Regions from separate parts of the Homo sapiens genome. Here region 2 is linked to region 1. The links are contacts of gene promoters, found by promoter capture Hi-C in blood cells and fetal thymus (Javierre and others, 2016). All regions are on one chromosome and are shown on one strand. The core of a region is centred on a gene start or on the middle of the fragment in contact, and the rest is flanking DNA. Distances in the headings are between cores, read along the strand shown.

Evidence for each region. The method cuts DNA at HindIII sites, captures the fragments that hold promoters and counts their contacts. A CHiCAGO score of 5 or more calls a contact.
Region 2: a contact is called between a fragment that was not itself captured here and the fragment with the promoter of MRPL54 in region 1, in 1 of 17 cell types (total CD8 T cells). The highest score is 5.1, in total CD8 T cells.

The regions. Positions count from the first base shown.
Region 1 is chr19:3,761,432-3,766,879 of GRCh38, forward strand. MRPL54 (mitochondrial ribosomal protein L54) reads left to right here and starts at 1,251. Exons shown (of 3, transcript NM_172251.3): 1 at 1,251-1,387; 2 at 3,735-3,900. The coding sequence starts at 1,270. APBA3 (amyloid beta precursor protein binding family A member 3) reads right to left here and starts at 261. Exons shown (of 11, transcript NM_004886.4): 1 at 105-261. It overlaps LOC105372248 (a long non-coding RNA gene), which reads right to left and starts at 1,209. Exons shown (of 3, transcript XR_936268.1): 1 at 1,127-1,209; 2 at 718-775; 3 at 323-423. RefSeq lists a silencer at 146-463 and an enhancer at 1,125-1,614. The HindIII fragment of the contact is 13,040 bases long and covers 1,140-5,448 here.
Region 2 is chr19:4,198,161-4,203,156 of GRCh38, forward strand. ANKRD24 (ankyrin repeat domain 24) reads left to right here. Exons shown (of 22, transcript NM_001393985.1): 3 at 1,523-1,609; 4 at 1,715-1,845; 5 at 1,923-2,011; 6 at 3,866-3,930; 7 at 4,709-4,766. Among named protein-coding and RNA genes, the nearest start is that of ANKRD24, 18 kb to the left of the region's middle. RefSeq lists enhancers at 1,169-1,815, 1,816-2,462. The HindIII fragment of the contact is 364 bases long and covers 2,741-3,104 here.

The DNA.
Region 1 (5,448 bases), core at 1-2,500:
CCCCGACTTCAGGACCCAGCCCCAAGCCCAGACCCTAGTCCCCCCTCAGACCGAAGACCTCAAGCGCCGACTCAGACTGCGCTCTGCACCTCGAGGACACTCACTTCCCAAATCGAGGCCGCCTCAGCCCCGCGCAGCCTCCAGGACCCCGCTCCCCACGGACGGCCCCGACGTAGCCCGGGCCGCGTCCCCAGAAGGCGCAGCTCGGGGATTCCCGGTCCCGGCGCCCGCTCCTCTATCCGCGCAGAGCCCTGGCCCATTGAGCATGCGCGGCCTCGCGAGGCCTGCTGGGAAATGTAGTTCTCCCACCCAGCCTCGCCACGCGGGGGCGCTGGGACAACTGCAGATGTTGGAGGGGAGTTCGAATCCCAGGCTTCCCGGCCCGCAGACTGCCCCGGCTGGCCCCAGGACCTGTTTGTTCTCCTGCAAAATAGGGTTAATAATCACTGCCTGGCTCTGGGGGCTGTGTTCATTATTCCAAAGGATGGCAGATGGGGAGAAGTGGGGTTGGGAAATATTAAAGAAGTGTGAGAGGTGGTTTCCTTGGGACCTTGAGGCACCGGAAGCGTCGTGGAGACCCTGTTAAAGACGGACTTTCGGTTTGGCTCACAGTAGGGAGACACATAGGTGCACCATGGATTTGGGGTCGGCCTGGGAACTTTACCTCCCTGAGAACTCAGTTTCCTCATTATAAGCTGGGGAAAAAATAGTACCTACCTCTCAATTGTGAGGATTAAATTAGATCAAGCGGGTTAAGGATTTAGCAGTAGTAGAGCTGGAAAAGAATATATAAAATATATATTATTAATTTATATATTATATATAAAACATACTATATATTATATGTATTATATATGTTATATATAATTTTAAAAATATAATGTTATAAAAATTAACAGTGATTAGACTCCAGCCCTACTGGAGTATATTAGACTCATTGTTAATCTTCTTTTTTTAACTTTAAAGCTTTGAATAATTACTCATTGGATGGAATCAGGAACATATAAAGTGTGATATTTTTAGTAAATGTTATGTAATTGAAGAAGGGCAAGAAGTCAATGAAATATCCCTTGAACGCCTCCTCCTATAGTAACTGTGTATGTCTACAAAAGTCTGAAGAAATCACCATAGATTATGAAAGCTTGGGAGACCGCATTTCCCAGACACCTCCACGGGGCCTACACTTCCACGGGGCCTACAACTCCCAAACACCCTTGGGCCACTGACGTCTTCCGGAAACGTGCACTTGCAAGCTGCCCGCAATACGTCATGGCGACCAAACGCCTTTTCGGGGCTACCCGGACGTGGGCCGGCTGGGGGGCCTGGGAGCTCCTAAACCCCGCCACTTCCGGAAGACTCCTGGCCCGGGATTATGCCAAGAAACCAGGTGAGCTGGGTTAAGAGGAACCAAATGGGGACGGTGGGTGCACTGAGGAATTGACAGTGCGCAGGCGGTGGTTGGGGAGGTGGTGCTAGAACTGATGCGCAAGCGCAGAGAGGCGGATGCCAGGCTGTATGCGCAGGCGCAGTTTGAGGGACCCAGCGCCGCTTGGAGCTCGGGCGTCTGGCTCGGAGATACTGTAGCGATTGGACCCAGGGCGCAGGCGCCAGCTTGGGGCGGAGCGGCCTGGGAGGAGGATGTGGTTACGTGGAGACCACGCGTTTCACTGCGCAGGCGCGGGTTGGAAAGGATTTGAAGGGAGTCTGGGGAGGTCATGAACTTGGGTTCCAGTTCTGTTTCTCTGCCTGCCTCCAAATCGCTGGGTAACCTTGGCCAAGACGTTACCAAACATTCAAAGAAATTATGGAGCCCGTTTAATTGGCCACTTCAGCAAGAACAAAACAAGGTTATTAAGGTTTAGCTGGATACAGCCTTGCCTGATCTCCTTTGTTGAAAGGGGGAAATTGTCCAATGTTCGGCCTTAAAGACAGACACATAGCAGACAAAATATAACTTGAATGACTTGGTCATTCCAAGCATCGGTGTTACTTAATGCTATGTCCAAATCCCACTTAAAGTTACTTAATGCTGTGTCCAAATCCCACTTAAAGTGATTTCGAGGCCAGGCATGATGGCTCACACCTTTATTCCCGGCACTTTGGGAAGCCAAGGAGGGAGGATCGATTGCTTGAACCCAGGAGTTCGAGACCAGCCTGGGCAACATAGCAGGACCCTGTTTGTATAAAAAAAAAAAAAAATTGCCTGGCGCGGTAGCTCACGCCTGTAATCCCAGCACTTTGGGAGGCTGATGCAGGTGGATCACAAGGTCAGGAATTCAAGATCAGCCTGACCAACATGGTGAAACCCTAGCTCTACTAAAAATACAAAAATTAGTGGGGCATGGTGGCACATGTCTGTAATCCCAGCTACTCAGGAGGCTGAGGCAGGAGAACTGCTTGAACCCAGGAGGCGGAGGTTGCAGTGAGCCGAGATCACGCCACTGCACTCCAGCCTGGGCGACACAGTGAGACTCTGTCTCAAAATAAATAAATAAATAAATAAAAATAAAAATAAGCGGGGCATGGTGGCTCACAACTGTGATCTCAGCTACTTGGGAGGCTGAGGCAGAAGGATCACTTGAGCCTGGGAGTTTGAGGCTGCAGTGAGCCATGATTGTGCCCCTGCCCTCCAGCCTGGGCTTTTATTTTTTATTTTTTTATTTTCTTCAGACGGAGTCTCGCTCTGTCGCCCAGGCTGGAGTGTGCAGTGGCGCAATCTTGGCTCACTGCAAGCTCCGCCTCCTGGGTTCACGCCATTCTCCTGCCTCAGCCTCCCAAGTAGCTGGGACCACAGGTGCCCACCACCATGCCCGGCTAATGTTTTTGTATTTTTAGTAGAGATGGAATTTCACCATGTTAGCCAGGATGGTCTCAACCTCCTGACCTCGTGATCCGCCCACCTTGGCCTCCCAAAGAGCTGGGATTACAGGCGTGAGCCGCCGCGCCCGGCCGGGCTGTCTTTATTTTTTAATTTTTTAGATTTTTTATTTTTTTGAGATGGAATCTTGCTCTGTAACCTAGGCTGGAGTGCAGCGATGCGATCTCAGCTCACTGCAACCTCCGCCTCCCGGGTTCAAGTGATTCTCCTGCCTCAGCCTCCCGAGTAGCTGGGATCACAGGCATATGCCACCATGCCCAGCTAATTTTTTTTTTTGTATTTTTAGTAGAGACAAGTTTTCACCATGTTGGCCAGGCTGGTCTTAAACTCACCTGACCTCAGGTGATCTTCCCACCTCGGCCTCCCAGAGTGCTGGGATTACAGGCATGAGCCACTATGCCTGGCTGAGACCCTGTCTTTAAAAAAAAGTTTTGAGTGGCCGGGCGCGGTGGCTCACGCCTGTAATCCCAACACTTTGGGAGGCCAAGGTGGGCAGATCACGAGGTCAGGAGATCGAGACCATCCTGGCTAACACGGTGAAACCCCGTCTCTACTAAAAATACAAAAAATTAGCTGGGCGTGGTGGTGGGCGCCTGTAGTCCCAGCTACTTGGGAGGCTGAGGCAGGAGAATGGCTTGAACCCGGGAGGCGGAGCTTGCAGTGAGCTGAGACTGCGCCACTGCACTCCACCTGGGCAACAGAGCGAGACTCCGTCTCAAAAAAAAAAAAAAAGAAAGTTTTGAGTGTAGCAGAGTCCAGCCAGGGGCAGAGGCCACCTGAGACAGGGTTCTGTGAGAGAAGTTTGGCTTCCAGAGGAGGGGCTGGGCTGAAATGACTCTCCCTCTCGTCTCCCCAGTTATGAAGGGGGCCAAATCGGGAAAAGGTGCAGTGACCAGCGAGGCCCTCAAGGACCCCGACGTATGCACAGATCCTGTCCAGCTCACCACATATGCCATGGGCGTCAACATCTACAAGGAAGGGCAGGATGTACCCCTGAAACCGGATGCTGAGTACCCTGAATGGTGAGTAGGCCAGGCTGTGTCATCCTGCAATGACTATTCCTTCCTCCGCCCCAGGAGGACCCCTTCCCGGAGAGGCGGATCGCCACTCCAGCCGGAGCCTAATAGTCACACCTACCCATCCTGGCTTTAGGGCAGGGGGCTTCAGGGCTCTGCCCATCTGTAATGGGGTGATGGGACCCATCCCTCCCTCAGAGGGCTGTGAGGAATTCATGAGATTAGAACACATGTCAAGTACCTAAAACAATGCTTTATCTTAAGCAAATACTTAAAAAAAATTTTTTTTCAGGCTGGGCGCCGTGGCTCACACCTGTAATCCCAGCACTTTGGGAGGCAAGGCGTTTGGATCACCTGAGGTCAGGAGTTCGAGACCAGCCTGGCCAACATGGTGAAACCTCGTCTCTACTAAAAATATAAAAATTAGCCGGGTGTGGTGGCACATTCCTGTAGTCCCAGTTACTTGGGAGGCTGAGGCACGAGAATTGCTTGAGCCTGGGAGGCAGAGGTTGCAGTGAGCTGAGATCACGCCATTGTACTCCAGCCTGGGCAACAGAGTGAGACTTGGTCTCAAAAAAAAAAAAAAAAATTTTTTTTTTTCTTCTATATGGAGTCTTGCTCTGTCACCCAGTGTGGAATGCAGTCATGTGGTCTTGGCTCACTGCAACCTCTGCCTCCTGGGTTCAAGCGGTTCTCCTGCCTCAGCCTTCAGAGTAGCTGGGATTACAGGCATGCGCCACCATGCCTGGCTAATTTTTTTTTTTTTTTGAGATGGAGTTTTGCTCTTGTCGCCCAGGCTGGAGTGCAGTGGTGTGATCTTGGCTCACTGCAACCTCCACCTCCCAGTGTTCCAATGATTCTCCTGCCTCAGCCTCCCGAGTAGCTGGGATTACAGGTGCCCGCCGTCACACCCAGCTAATTTTTGTATTTTTAGTAGAGACAGGGTTTCACCATGTTTGCCAGGCTAGTCTCGAACTCCTGATAACCTCGTGATCCGCCTGCCCTGGCCTCCCAAAGTGCTGGGATTACAGGCGTGAGCCACCACGCCTGGCCTAATTTTGTATTTTTAGTAGAGACAGGGTTTCTCCATGTTGGCCAGGCTGGTCTTGAACTCCTGACCTCAGGTGATCCGCCCACCTCGGCCTCCCAAAGTGCTGGGAGTACAGGCGTGAGCCGCCGCACCCGTCCTGCAAATACTTATTGACCACTGACTGCATGCCAGGCCCTGCTCTAGGCTTGAGGGATACAGAAGGGCTCAAAACAGACACAAGTCCCCACCCTGGCGGAGCTAGCTGGGGAGGCAGACAGGAAGGAGGAAGTCAGGCAGCTGTGGTGGTGACACTTCCAGGAAGGGGGCAGGAGAATGAGGGACAGAGCCGGGGTGTTTGGCTGCTCTAGTTTGAGGTTTGGGGGACACAGAAGCCAAGACGGGAGTGGGTGGAAGGGGCTTTCCAGGCAGTGGGCACAGCCTGTGCAAAGGCCCCGGGGCAGGACCGCACCTGGTGTGCTGGAGGAACAGCGGGGAGGCCTGTGTGGCTGGAGCACAGTGAGGAG
Region 2 (4,996 bases), core at 1,673-4,172, 440 kb after region 1:
GGTGAGGGAGCCGGGCCCCCGGCGCCGCGTCCTCCTCATCCTCCAGGCGACAAGGTCAGGAGGGGCCGGGGCGGCGCCCCTTCCCTCAGCCCCCAGCCCCCAGCCCCCTACCTGGGTCTTCCCATTCCATCCCGTGGGGGAGGGGGCTGGCGAGGAGGGCAAGGGGGAGGGGGCGGCACCAGGGAGGGCGGGACCGGGCGGGCGGGCGGGGCGGGGAGCTCCGGCAGCGCCCAGCCCCGCCCTCCGGCCGCTCCCCGCGGTCCCTCCAGACCCTCTGGCCGCCGCCTCCTCTTGGAACCCCGTGCGCCCCCCGCGCCCCGCGCCCCGGACGCCATGAAGCAGCTGTGTCTGTGCGCAGCCGCCTCCTTCGCGGTAGGGCCCGGGGAGGGGGCGCAGGAGCGGGCGGGGCGCGGGTACCTCCTCTCCCCTCCCTTCCCCGTCCCCGGCTGACCTGGACCACCCCCCCATTCCAGACCCGGGAAAGATGGTCGGCGGCGGGGGGTGGGGGGGAACAGAGGTTGGGGCAGCTTTTGGGGGAATGGAAGAGACATTTGGGGAGACATGTGGACACGTTTTGGAAGACTCTTTGAAACAAATGGGGACATTTAGGAACATTTAGAGGGCATTGGGGGGTGCAGTTTTGGGAAAACATTTTGGAGACAGATGGGGTCATTGAGGGGACAACTTGGAAGCTATTTTGGGAGAGCCGATTTTGCGAAGAGGTAATGATTTGGAGAACAGTTTGGGAGAACATTTGAGGGATGTTTTTGGAGGATATTTTTGGGACATGACGGTATCATTGGGAAGGATGGTTTTACAGAACACTTCAGGAATTTGGGGGAGACATTTCGTAATGCATTTCAGGCTATAGTGTTGAGGGGAGAAGCCTCGGGATGTTTAGGGGACAGTGGTGGCATTTCAGGGCAGTTGTGGATAAACAGGGCAGAGGATGGTCCTGAGAGGCATTTAAAGGGGACTTTTAGGGGTTCAGATGGGACTTTGGAGGGTAGTTTGGAAAAGACTCATGGATCCATTTGCTGGGGGCGATGTTGCAGGGGTGGCTTTCACTAAGGGATGAATTGGGGGACAACTTTTTTTATTGTACAGAGTGGGTCTTGCTGTGTTGCCTAGGCTGGTCTCAAAATTCCTGGGCTCAAATGATCCTCCCACCTCAGCCTCCCAAGCAGCTACAGGCATGAGCCACCATGCCCCGCTGATGATTTTTATTTTTTGTAGAGACGGGGTCCTACTATGGTGCCCAGGTTTGTCTCAAACTCCTAGGCTCAAGCGATCCTCCCACCTTGGCCTCCCCAGATGCTGGGACTACAGGCGTGAGCCTCCATGCTCAGCCCAGGGGACAACGTTTTGGAAATAGATGCCAGGGGGCTGCTCAGGGGATGATGCTGGTGGTGGGCTTTTGTTGGACAACTGGGGTGATGGGCCTGGGGGCAGATGCTGGGGGTCGCAGGCTTGGGGGACACTGTCTGAGGACCCCCTCGCCCAGGACCACCTCCCCCTGCAGCTGCGGCTCAGCCCCACTGACCTTGGCTCCTGCCCGCCCTGCGGCCCCTGCCCCATCCCGAAGCCGGCAGCCAGAGGCAGGCGCCAGGCAAGTGCCCAGGGGCAGGTGGTGAGAGCCCGGAGCCCCTGTCGGGGGCGTGGGGAGGGGACAGCAGCCAACACTGCCCCACGCACTTCTGGGCGTGCCCTGCAGAGTCAAGACTGGGGCAAGAGTGACGAGAGGCTGCTACAAGCCGTGGAAAACAACGATGCACCTCGGGTGGCCGCCCTCATCGCCCGCAAGGGGCTGGTGCCCACGAAGCTAGACCCCGAGGGCAAGTCCGCGTGAGTGCCCGCGACCCGGGAGTGAGATGGCTGAGGGGTGGCAACCTTGCGGCTGAACCCTTGTCTCTCACCTCCAGGTTCCACCTGGCGGCCATGCGGGGTGCGGCCAGCTGTCTGGAGGTGATGATAGCTCATGGCAGCAATGTCATGAGCGCGGACGGGGCAGGTACTGCCAGCTGGGCCCCGGGGAGGGAGGAGGAACTAAGCCCAGGTGCCCAGCCTGAGGGTCCAGCCAGACCCTGCTCCCAGGTCTCAATGTTCCCCGCTGAAAAAAGGGGAGGCTCCCTCTGGTGCTCCTCCCCTGCCCCCAGGGAGACACACAGGGGCATGTTAGGATGGGGTGGCCAAAGATAGAGACTGTGGCTGGCACCGAGCAAAGCCAGTGGACAGCTTGTGGATGGGGAGTGACTAGGATTCAGGTATTGGTTCAGTTGGATGGGGAAGTAGCTGGCATGGGGAAGTAGCTGGGGCTTGGGGGATAGCTGCAAAGTTTCTGGGGTTTTGTTGTTTTGTTTTTCTTTTTTGGGGGGAGGGACAGGGTCTCCCTCTGTCACCCAGGCTTGAGTGCAGTGGCCATGATCTCAGCTCACTGCAGTCTCCATTTCCTGGGCTCAAGGGATCCCCTCCAACCTCAGCCTCCCAAGTAGCTAGGACTATAGGCGCACACCACCATGCCCAGTTAATTTTTCTATTCTTAGTAGGGATGGGGTCTCCCTGTGTTGCCCAGGCCGGTCTTGAACTCCTGGGCTCTAAGTGATCCTTCCACCTCAGACTCCCAAAGTGCTGAGATTATAGGTGTGAGCCACCATGCCAAGCCTGGGGAAGTTTCTAGAAAGTGACTGAGGCAGAGGAAGAACTGGGGCTTGGGAGATAACTGGGACCATTGGACGAACTAAGCTTTGAGGTGCATCTGGGATATAGGAGTATCCGAGATAAAGGAAGTGACTGAAGGGAACTGCTTGGAGTTTGGAGGAGGAACTGGATTCATGGGAGTAGCTGAGCTTGCAAAGTATCTGGGGCAAGAGAATAACAAGTAGAGTTTGGGGATATCTGAGGTATATGGGATAGCTGGGATCTAGGAGTAGCTGGAGCTGTGGGAGTAGCTTGAGCTCTTGGAGTAGCTGGGTTACGAGGAGAACTTGTATGTATGTATGACTTAACTGGAGACCTGGGGGGAATAACTGAGATAAAAATGTGTGGCCAAAAGGAGTAGTTGGGGCTCAGGAGGCAACTAGGCATGGGGACACAGTCAAATCTGAAGCTTTAGGGTCACAGGCATGGTGGGCAGGGAATATGGAATAGCTGGGGATTCATGGAGCATCAGACAGGGACAGAGTTGGCATTTGGAAGAGGAAGGGTATATGGATTGGCAAGAACATATACAGCAACTGTGGGTTGTGAAGGGCAGAGCTGAAACTTTGGTGTAGTGGACCCTGTAGAGTATCTGGGGACATGGGGAGTAGCTGAGGCAATAGGGCTTGAGGAATAGGTGGGTGTGGACAGTCGCTGAGATGGGATTGTCTGGAATACAGACTAGCCATGGCTTAGAGAGTCTCTGGGTACAGGGAATAGCATGGTTTTGAGAAGTACCTGATGGCCGGGCACCATGGCTCATGTCTGTTAATTCCAGCACTTTGGGAGGCTGAGGTGGGAGGATCGCACGAGCCAAGGAGTTCAAGACGAGCTTGGGCAACATAGCAAGACTCCTGTCTCTACAGAAAATACAAATAAATTAGCCAGACATGGTGGCACTTGCTTGTAGTCCCAGCTACTCGGAAGGCTGAGACAGGAGGATCGCTTGAGCCTAGGTGTTCAAGCCTACAGTGAGCTATGATCACACTGCACTCTAGCCTGGGCCACAGAGCAAGATCCTTTCTGCAGGGAAAAAAGGAGAGAAATACTAGGGTTTACGGACTTTGCTAGACTCAGAAACTCATCACAAGTAGTTGACATGGCTTGGGGAGCAGCTGGGAGCTACTTGAATAGCTGGAGCTCCAGTAAATCTTCTTTCCTTCCCCAGGTTACAATGCCCTCCACCTGGCCGCCAAATACGGGCACCCACAGTGCTTGAAGCAACTACTGCAGGTCATTTACTGTCTTATCTCAGCTACTCCCTTGGCCCCTACTACTCCTGAGTTCCAGCAATTCCTTGAACCCCCAGATGCTCTATGAATCCTAGATATTCCTTGGCCCCTTTTACTCCAGAACCCTAGCTACTCCCTGGATAACCAGGTACTCTCAGACCATCCACATGCTTCTCCTATTTAAGATGTACTCCCAAGCCAGGCGCGGTGGCTCACGCCTGTAATCCCAGCACTTTGGGAGGCTGAGGTCGGTGAAATCGCCTGAGGTCAGGAGTTCGAGACCAGCCTGGCCAACACAGTGAAACCCCGTCTCTACTAAAAATACAAAAAATTAGCTGGGAGCGGTGGTGTGTGCCTGTAATCTCAGCTACTAGGGAGGCTGAGGCAGGAGAATCCCTTGAACTTGGGAGGCGGAGGTTGCAGTGAGCCGAGATCATGCCATTGCACTCCAGCCTGGGCAACAAGAGCGAAACACCATCTAAAATATATATATATACTCCCAATGCCAGGTATTTCCTGAGCTCTGTTTCTCCCCAAGCCCTGGGTCCTTCCTTAGCCCCAGACACTCCCAGAGTTCCCAGCCACTCCTCAAATTCTCAGCTGCTTCTCAGCTCTCAGCTATTTTCTTTTCTCACCAATTTTCATGAAAATGGAGTCCCTTGGGGGCCACGGAAGGGTGAGGCTGAAGTATAGCAGAGCCCAGGGTAGGGAAGGCAGTCCTAGAGAAATCAGGCAGCAAGAAGGATGGCTCCGCCTCAAAGGACTCGCCCCATCCCCAGGCTTCCTGCGTGGTGGACGTCGTGGACAGCAGCGGGTGGACTGCCCTACACCATGCAGGTGGGTGCAGCCCAGCCCTGCCCTGACCCCGAAGCCCAGAGGGTGCTAGACTTGGGGGTTATTCTGCCCAGGGCCCTAGGGACCTGACCTGCTGTGAAGCTTCCTGTCTCCTCCTTTCTTTCTTTCTTTTTTTTTTTTTGAGACGGAGTCTCACTCTGTTGCCCAGGCTGGAGTGCAGTGGCAAGATCTCAGCTCACTGTAACATCCATCTCCCAGGTTCAAGCAATTTT